Linked DNA regions of Homo sapiens: all the other regions are linked to region 2. Evidence: promoter capture Hi-C in human tissues and cell types (Jung and others, 2019). All regions are on one chromosome and are shown on one strand. The core of a region is centred on a gene start or on the middle of the fragment in contact, and the rest is flanking DNA. Distances in the headings are between cores, read along the strand shown.

What was found. The method cuts DNA at HindIII sites, captures the fragments that hold promoters and counts their contacts. A contact is called where the count stands out against the background at its distance.
Region 1: a contact is called between a fragment that was not itself captured here and the fragment with the promoter of FAM114A1 in region 2, in 1 of the 25 tissues and cell types used here (mesendoderm cells).
Region 3: a fragment that was not itself captured here is called in contact with the fragment with the promoter of FAM114A1 in region 2 in 1 of the 25 tissues and cell types used here (lymphoblastoid cells).

Annotation. Positions count from the first base shown.
Region 1 is chr4:38,297,457-38,300,156 of GRCh38, forward strand. No RefSeq gene overlaps it. Among named protein-coding and RNA genes, the nearest start is that of LINC02513, 68 kb to the right of the region's middle. The HindIII fragment of the contact is 4,324 bases long and covers 1-2,700 here.
Region 2 is chr4:38,866,496-38,869,195 of GRCh38, forward strand. It overlaps FAM114A1 (family with sequence similarity 114 member A1), which reads left to right and starts at 1,311. Exons shown (of 15, transcript NM_138389.4): 1 at 1,311-1,339; 2 at 1,903-2,051. It overlaps MIR574 (microRNA 574), which reads left to right and starts at 1,537; the gene lies at 1,537-1,632. It also overlaps a transcript of TLR6 not described here. RefSeq lists silencers at 1,075-1,554, 1,605-1,654 and an enhancer at 1,862-2,445. The HindIII fragment of the contact is 6,667 bases long and covers 1-1,705 here.
Region 3 is chr4:38,319,609-38,322,308 of GRCh38, forward strand. No RefSeq gene overlaps it. Among named protein-coding and RNA genes, the nearest start is that of LINC02513, 46 kb to the right of the region's middle. The HindIII fragment of the contact is 3,401 bases long and covers 1-2,700 here.

The sequences.
Region 1 (2,700 bases), core at 76-2,575, 570 kb before region 2:
ATGCTCCTATCAAAAGATGCTCCTAAAAGGGATTTAGGAACTCTGCACTAGATGCTTCTATCACTCAGAGAATTACAAATTTCTTAGGAGCTCTATGGCAGAAGCCAGGGTCAAAGACAAAATATTTAACAAAAGATTCTCCTAGCATTCCTATCTAAAAAGACTTTAAGTGCTCTACATCAGGAAGTGGGTGCAAAGACCAGTATATATATTTCCTATTATTTTCACATTTGCCTTTAATTAGAATTCTGTATTGCAGAAATTCACACACATACATATGCTCACTATGCTGATATATGTAGAGTCCAATGAGAATAACAATAATTTCAGAAATGTCTGATTGCCAAAATCAGATACTATTTTTCTTAGACTTCAAAAATAGCGTTGCCATGATAATCTCTCTTTTCAAAGCATAGCTCTCATGCATTTTGCAAAGTTATTGGTGATCCTTAAACAATCATTAAGTAAGTGACTGAATCTAATGCTAGGTAAATATTTGTTGTTTAGAGTAAGATTGTGGAATAGAAATATCCAGCACTCATTCCCTCACATAAACATCAATTTGAGCAACCAATCATGCATGAAAATATCTTCACAAGATCTAAGAAACCCAGCTGAGAGACTACAGCACACGGCTGAAGCACAGAAATAAGAAAAATGCATTGAAGAGGGTAGGAAGGACATTTTCACATAAACTGCACCACCCCTTCTCTAAGCCCATGCAGCACAGTGCAGAGAGAGATTCCCTCCACGTGGAGGAATAAGCATGAATAAGCACCCAATTTTTCCATGGACTCTAGCACCAGGCCTGTCTCAGTGGACTCTAATACCAGGTCAGCTCCTGCAACCCCTGGCTCTAGGCTCACCCTGAAGACCCAGGCTCTAGGACAACCCTAGCATCAGGCCAGCCCCCTGATGCAGATTTCAGCAGACCCAGAGCCCAGGCTTGCCCTAGTAGACTTTGCAACCATGCCATTTCTTACAGACTCAAAACCAGGTTTACCCCTAAGGACCCAGGCACTAGGCCTACCTCAGCACTAAGTTGTCTTCTGCAGACCCTCAGGGCCACCCTCATGGGTCTAGTCACTAGGCCCATTCTAGTAGGTCCCAGTGCCAGGTTGGCTCCTGTGGACCCAGGCACCAGGACAGCCCACCTGAGGACTCCAACAGCAAGCACTCCCATAGACCCCACCAGCTGGCCTACCAAGAATTTCTGGACAGGTTAACTGGTGAAGAGTTTTTTATGCCAAAGTCAGTCTGTAAGTATTGGAAGAGATGCCTATTTCTTCAAATACATAGACACCAATACAAGGCCATAAGGATCATGGATTATCAGGGAAACATGACACCACTAAAGGAACAAAGTAAAGCACCAGTGATGTAGAACTACAAACTGCCTGACAAAGATTGCAAAATATTTATTTTTTAAAAGCTTAGTGAGCTATAAGGGAACACAAATAAATAGGTAAACAAAATCAGAAAAACAATATATGTACATAATGAAAAGTTCAACAAAAAGATAGAAATCATTTTTTAAAGTACCAAACAAAAATCCTGGAACTGAAGAATACAATGACTGAATTAACAAATTTCATAGACAGCTTCAACAGCAGACTCAGTTAAGCAGAAGAAAGAATTAGTGACCTGTAAAGGAGTTCATTAGAAATTATGTAGTCAAAGGAACAAAAAGAAAAAGAATAAAGATGTGTGAAGAAAGTCTATAGGACTTATGGGACACTGCCAAGTAAATCAATAAACACATTATGGTAGTCAAAAAAAGAAGCAGAGAAAGAGAAAGGGGAAGAAAGCTTATTTAAAGAAGTAATGATAGAAAACTTCTCAAATCTGGAGAAGAAAACGAACCTACAAATCCATGAAGCCCAAAGAACCCCAAGTAAATTAAGCAGAAAGAGATCTTCACCAAGACACATTATAATTAAATTCTCAAAAGTCAAAGACAAGGAGAGAATTTTGAAAGCACCAGGAGAAAAGCAACTTGTTACATACAAAAGAAGCCACACACAACTATCAGCAGAAACCTTGCAAGCCAGGAGAAAGGGGGATATATACTCAAAGTCCTAAAAGAACAAAAAAGCTGTCAATCAAGAATACTATATCTAGCAAAGCTATCCTTCAGCAATAAAAAAGAGATAAAGACTTTCCTATACCAACAACAACAACAACAACAAAAACACCTGAAGGAGTTTATTATTACTACACCTACTTTACAGGAAAAGCTACAGAGAATTCTTCAAGTTAAAATAAAAGGAGACTATCACCAGGAAAAATATGAAAGAATAAAACACTGTAAAGGTAAAAAAACAAAAAAAAAGTCAAATCCAGAATATTCTAATATCATATAGGTGGTATGTAAATCACTTTTAACTCTAGTATAAAAGTTAAAAAGCAAAAGTATTAAAAATAACAAAAGCTGCAATAATGTATTGATGAATACATAAATATCAAAGATGTAAATTGTGACTTCAAAAACAAAGTGTAGGAAGAGAAGTTAGAGTGTAGAGAGTTCTTGTATGCAGTAAAAGTTAAGTTGTTATCAACTTTAAAAAGACTGTTGTGACTATAAGATATTTTATGCAAGCATCATGATAACCGTAAAGATAAAATCTGTAATAGATGTGCAAAAAAATAAAGAAAAGGAATCAAAGCATATCACTACAAAATTTTCTCAAATCACAAGGG
Region 2 (2,700 bases), core at 61-2,560:
AAAATGAATTAATAAATTAATTAATATATATATGGAAGAAACTGGAATATAAGGAGCAAACTAATTGTCAATAGGAGAATGATTGAATGAAATATAATTACAAACATATTGCAATATATAAGACAAGTCTTAGAAGAGTGGTTTTGGTTGATATGTATTGACCAAGAAAGATGATTATAATATATAATAAATAGGGGGAAATTTACAAAATACGTCAACATCTCGCCATTTTTATAAAAAAGCAAACAAAAAGCTGTTTATGCATACATGTATTTATATAAGCTTAGAAAAACTATGGTAGGATCCACACACTATAAAAAATGGTAGTGATATTGAAAGGGAGAGACTAGGGCTATTTTTTCTTTAACTTTGAATTTATAATTCTTCAAAAAGAAGAAGGGATGGAGTGAGAGAGGAGAAAATCTGCCTTAAACACATCGCTCAGAAAGAATCACTATTTTTAAATTGTATTTCCTCCGACTTTTATAGAAAATACAAAATTGTTTACAAAACTAGTTAATACTATAAACACTGCGCTTCCTCCGCATCTGAGTTCATATTAAGCCATATTTGAGGAAGGCCTTCATATGTGGCCTTCCCTCCATGTCAACGAATCCTCATTTTTAAGGGCTACAACATATTCGATGTCTGAAGTTACTGTAGCTTACTTCACCAATCTTACTGGGGGACATTGAGATTGTCTCCGGCTTCCCCCCGCAGAAACAACTACAACAAACATCCTTGTACATACATATTTGCCCATTTGACTGCCTACTTAGGACAAATTCACAAATGTGGAATTCCTAGGCCAAAGCTAATACATCGGAGTTTTAACCCACAGCTCCAAACTGGCCTTCTGGAAAGTGGGTTTTCGTTGTTTGTTTGGGGTTTGTTTGTTTTAAATCTATCACACTCCCACCGACAGGGCAAGGGAGTGCTGCTTAACGCAGAATCAGGAGATCAAACTTTAGCTGAATTTGAGCGACCTCTTCCCAGTGACACGGCGGGGGGTTTTCCAAGCCCTTTTAAGGAAAGGAAAGGGATCTGGCGAACCCCGAGACCCACCCGCCCTGGGCTGGAGAGGCGGCGCGCTCTGGCTTTCCGCGCTGGCACAGGGGTGGGACAAGCCAAGTTTCCAGGAGACTCGCCCAGCGCGGGCCCGGCCCTCGCAGCGTGGGGGTGGCCGGGCGTCCCCGCGGCGCTCCTCGTGGGGCGGGGCGCAGGCGGGGCGGGGCCCCCTCTCCAGCCGCCCGCCCTCCGGCCGCGTCCCCGCCGGCCCTGCAGACGTGGCGGGGCGGGACCCGCTGGGCACTCCCGCGCGTACTCGGCCGCCTGAGCGGTAAGAGCCCCGGGCACTCGGTCCCCATCCCCTTCCCCGGGGGGCGGGCGAGCGCGGGGGCGGCTGCCCGGGGGTGGTGGGAACACCATACCTTGGCGCCTCGTCCGGGACCCACGAATCCTGCCCTCTGCGTTAGTGAGAAGCAGTGGTCAGGGAGGACCCGGCTCTGGGGTGAGGGTCTGGGGCGGCGCGGCCGAGGGACCTGCGTGGGTGCGGGCGTGTGAGTGTGTGTGTGTGAGTGTGTGTCGCTCCGGGTCCACGCTCATGCACACACCCACACGCCCACACTCAGGGTCTGCCCCCTCGGCCTGCGTGAACCTCCGCGGAGCCTGCCTGGATCTCCCAAAGTATCCAGTCCTGGCACCAAGCAAGTCTGGAAAAGTGCCCCCAATGGCTCGGGGCCAAGTCAGAGGTGGGCTGCAGGGTCCCCCAGCCCGGGCACGAAGGGAGCAGGTCCCTGTAAGACAGAGGCCTCGTCCCAGGGTGCGCCTGCCCTCGGCCTTGGCACAGGGAGCTCAGGCCTTGACCTCCCCGCTCCCCTCGCCTTACTCCTCCCCCAACAGCCGACCCACGCCCTGCCTGCTCTTCCAGTCCAGCCAACACTCTAAGCAGGCACCGCCTCCACTCGCAGCCCCCGGGATGGGTCCCACTCCCTACCGCAGATCCCCAGGCCCCCTCCACCCAGTCGGCTAGCCCTCGCCTCTGCCATCCGGTGAGTATTTCCAGGCACCTCAGACCAGGCGCCTGAACGTCACTGCCTTTTCTTAAGTAGGAAGACATCTCTCTATGGGCTGTGAGAGCATTACCTATGCCCTACTGATCCCATCATTTCCCATCCTAAACATCTTGAAGGACACAGGCAGGTGGCTTCTTAAATCAGTGTGCTCTGAACTCCCTGTGACCTCAGCCAACCTGTGACAACTGAGAATGAGACAGGCTCTATCCTCAGAGCCTCTTTTTGCCCTCTCTGCAGCCTAGTGGCTCCTTCCCTACCCCACCCATAGGCCTGCGTCCCCGCCCTCCTTTCTTCCATCAAGCCTGAGCTTGGGAAAGAATCTGATAAACTTCTTACATTGTAACCTTTAAGTGAAGGAATGAGACGTTAGGGATGGATTTGAGGCACAAGTGAGACAGTGCAGAAGGAATTTGAGGGTTGGAGGGGGCTTTCTTGAATCTGAGCGATTCAGACCATAAAAGTAAACTTGTCTTTGTTTATTTGACCAGGCTTACATCAAACATGGTTTCTCTTTTATTAATATCAAACACAATGTATTTCAATTCAGTAAATATCTGAGGGACAGAAACCAACCTAGGTGCTGTTGGTCACAGTCTTGGAGGACAGAATGGCAGAAGTAAATACT
Region 3 (2,700 bases), core at 108-2,607, 550 kb before region 2:
CGCATCACATAAAGGCGCAAAACCTGGATCTGCGTTCCAAGGGTCTGAAATCCAAAGGGGCTTGGGGATTTCACGAGGTCTGAATCTAAAACTGAAGTTCTTTTCATTTATTGAACCCTTAAGGGAGACCTAACTTTAACTTATTTGGCAAAACTTTATTCAGGGAAGACTTTTATTCAATCTTTATTACAGAGTTTATTCTTCAAATGTAAAGAAAAGACTTAGCTTAGTGCCTTCCCCAGAGCAGTGGGAGAATTATGAAAGATGTACTATTGCTTTTTTTTTTTTTTTTTGGCAACCTCTCTGCTCTGCTGGCTTTCACCCTGGCCATCCCAGGACCGAGCTGGGGCGTTCAAGCTTGCCTCGGAGCCAGGCCTGCACTTCCAGCGTCAGGCAGTAGGGGGAGCAAGTGTGCAAGAGGAGGAAAGCGGCTCCAATTGGGCAGGAAACGTTTGAGACCATGTGTCCTTACCCGGCTCCGGTTGAAAATTTAATTTTTTTGGCTGCCTGAATGCTTAGGACCCATGGCTCCAGGCTTCTCTGCAAAAATTTATGCTTACTGATTTGTAGGGTGGGAAAAACCAGCCTCAGGGAGTTGTAGAAAAAGATTACATGTGTCCCCTGGATCAGAGGAAGTAAAAACCTCCACACGGTTGCTGGGGAAGGATCCAGGCCTCCTGGCCTCTGCCCCTATGTGAGGGGGAGAGGACGCAGAGGCCCGCACTATGGGCCGTCCTGGGTCCAAGCATCCCAGGACCTCCACCTGAAACCTGCCAGAGAAGACAGGATTTTGTACAGTCCCTAGCGAAAGAATTGGAATGTATACAGCAAAATGGGGAGAAACGTTTGTGTTTTTTCATTGTATCCCTGGCTTCTGGAACAGCGCAGGTGGCGGCCTGGCTTCTGGTACTCACATTGACAGAGCCTGTTAACTTAGGCTGCGCTTTGACAAGCTCCTTGAAGTCAGGTGGAAAAGAAACAAATGTCCTAAGCTTGAGCCTGTACTAGGTCTAGAATAACTTTAGAGTGCTGGCAGGTCACCTCTGCTCTGGGATGTAGCTTTCTCCCATTTCTTTCTCCATTACAACTTTAGTTTCTTAACCTGGGAAAGAAAAGTTTCAAAACTGCAGCAGTGGAGAACCCCGAGGGCTGGCTGGCAATAGTGTCATTCAAAGGAAAACAGAGAAGAACCAAAAGCTGATGTTTGCCTGCACTTTGGATTTGGATATAGAAGACAACTGATATTCTTTTTTTGATGGTGGTTATGTACAGAAAACGTTGGTCTTGGTTCCAAATACACATGAGATTTGTATTCTAATGCACCTGTTCCTGTGATTTTTTTTGTTTGTTTGTTTAAAATGGTGACTTCCTAGGGTATTTTTCTAGACCAGTAGAAAAGACGTTAACCAAAGCTTCCTGTAAAACTACCATTTAGGCATCTCTGCTTTCATTCTGCTCTGGGGTAAAAACTCCCTTCACTCTGAATAAGTTAGAGAAGTATTCAGAGTAGCTGAGATGGAAATGGATAAGATGTGGACCCACTAAGAGAGATGGCAATAATCTTTGGATCGCCACCCCTCACGGGATTTCCCCTAATATAAGATGATACCTGTGTATCATTGGTATATATCATCATAGAGGTATCTATGTATCTGCAATATAAAATGATATCTATATAAGGAACTTACAATCTTCTGGTACAGTTCTCACTTCGTATGGCCCAAGAACCCATCAGAAAATTTACCTTTTATTTGCAAACACTCTAGCACAAGTAATTAACAATTAACATTGATTAGTACCCTCTAGGTGCTAGGCATAGGAAATAAAGATAAAGACCCGCCCTTGAGGCTGGGCATTGTGGCTTACGCCTGTAATCCCAACACTTTGGGAGGCCGTGGCGGGCAGGTGGGGGAGCATCACTTGAGATCAGGAGTTTGAGACCAGCCTGGCCAACAAGCCGAAACCCTGTCTCTACAAAAATACAAAAATTAGCCGGGTATGGTGGCGCACACCTGTAATCCCAGTTACTCCAGAGGCTGAGGCATGAGAATCGGTTGAACCCATGAGATGGAGGTGGCAGTGAGCTGAGATCATGCCACTGCACTCCAGCCTGGGCGACAGAGCCAGATTCTCAAAAAGAAAGAAAGAAAGAAAGACCCACCCTTGAATAACTCACTCTGGTAAGGGAGACATCACATTCTAGGGTATGTGTGTTTCCATATGTAAATGACAGGGAGGAGTGTTTTGAGGAAGGAAGGCTCTGCTTGGATGAGGCAGTAGGTTCAGGGGCTAGGAGCCTCAATACTGGAGTCAGCCTGCCAGGATTGAATCCTGGCTCCACCATTTACTAGCTATGTGACTCTGGGCAAGTTTCTAGACCTAGCTGAGCCCCAGTTTTATTATCTATATGCTATAGGGAGAATCATGTTCCCTATTGCCATGGTTTTTTTTTTTTTTTTTGAGGATTCGGTGGGATGGAGCCAGTAATCACTCAATATGTGTTGGTGATGATAATGGTGATGATGATGGTGGAGGTGGAGGTGGATGAAATAGAGAAGGCTTGACTGAGGAATTCAGCAGGAGAAAGAGGGAACTGTGGAAGAGGGAAGAGCATTCTAGATGAGGCCTGGTATTCTGGGATTTAAGAAGCCCTCTAGGTGATTCTGATGCACACTAGGGTTTAAGAACCACAGAGTCATG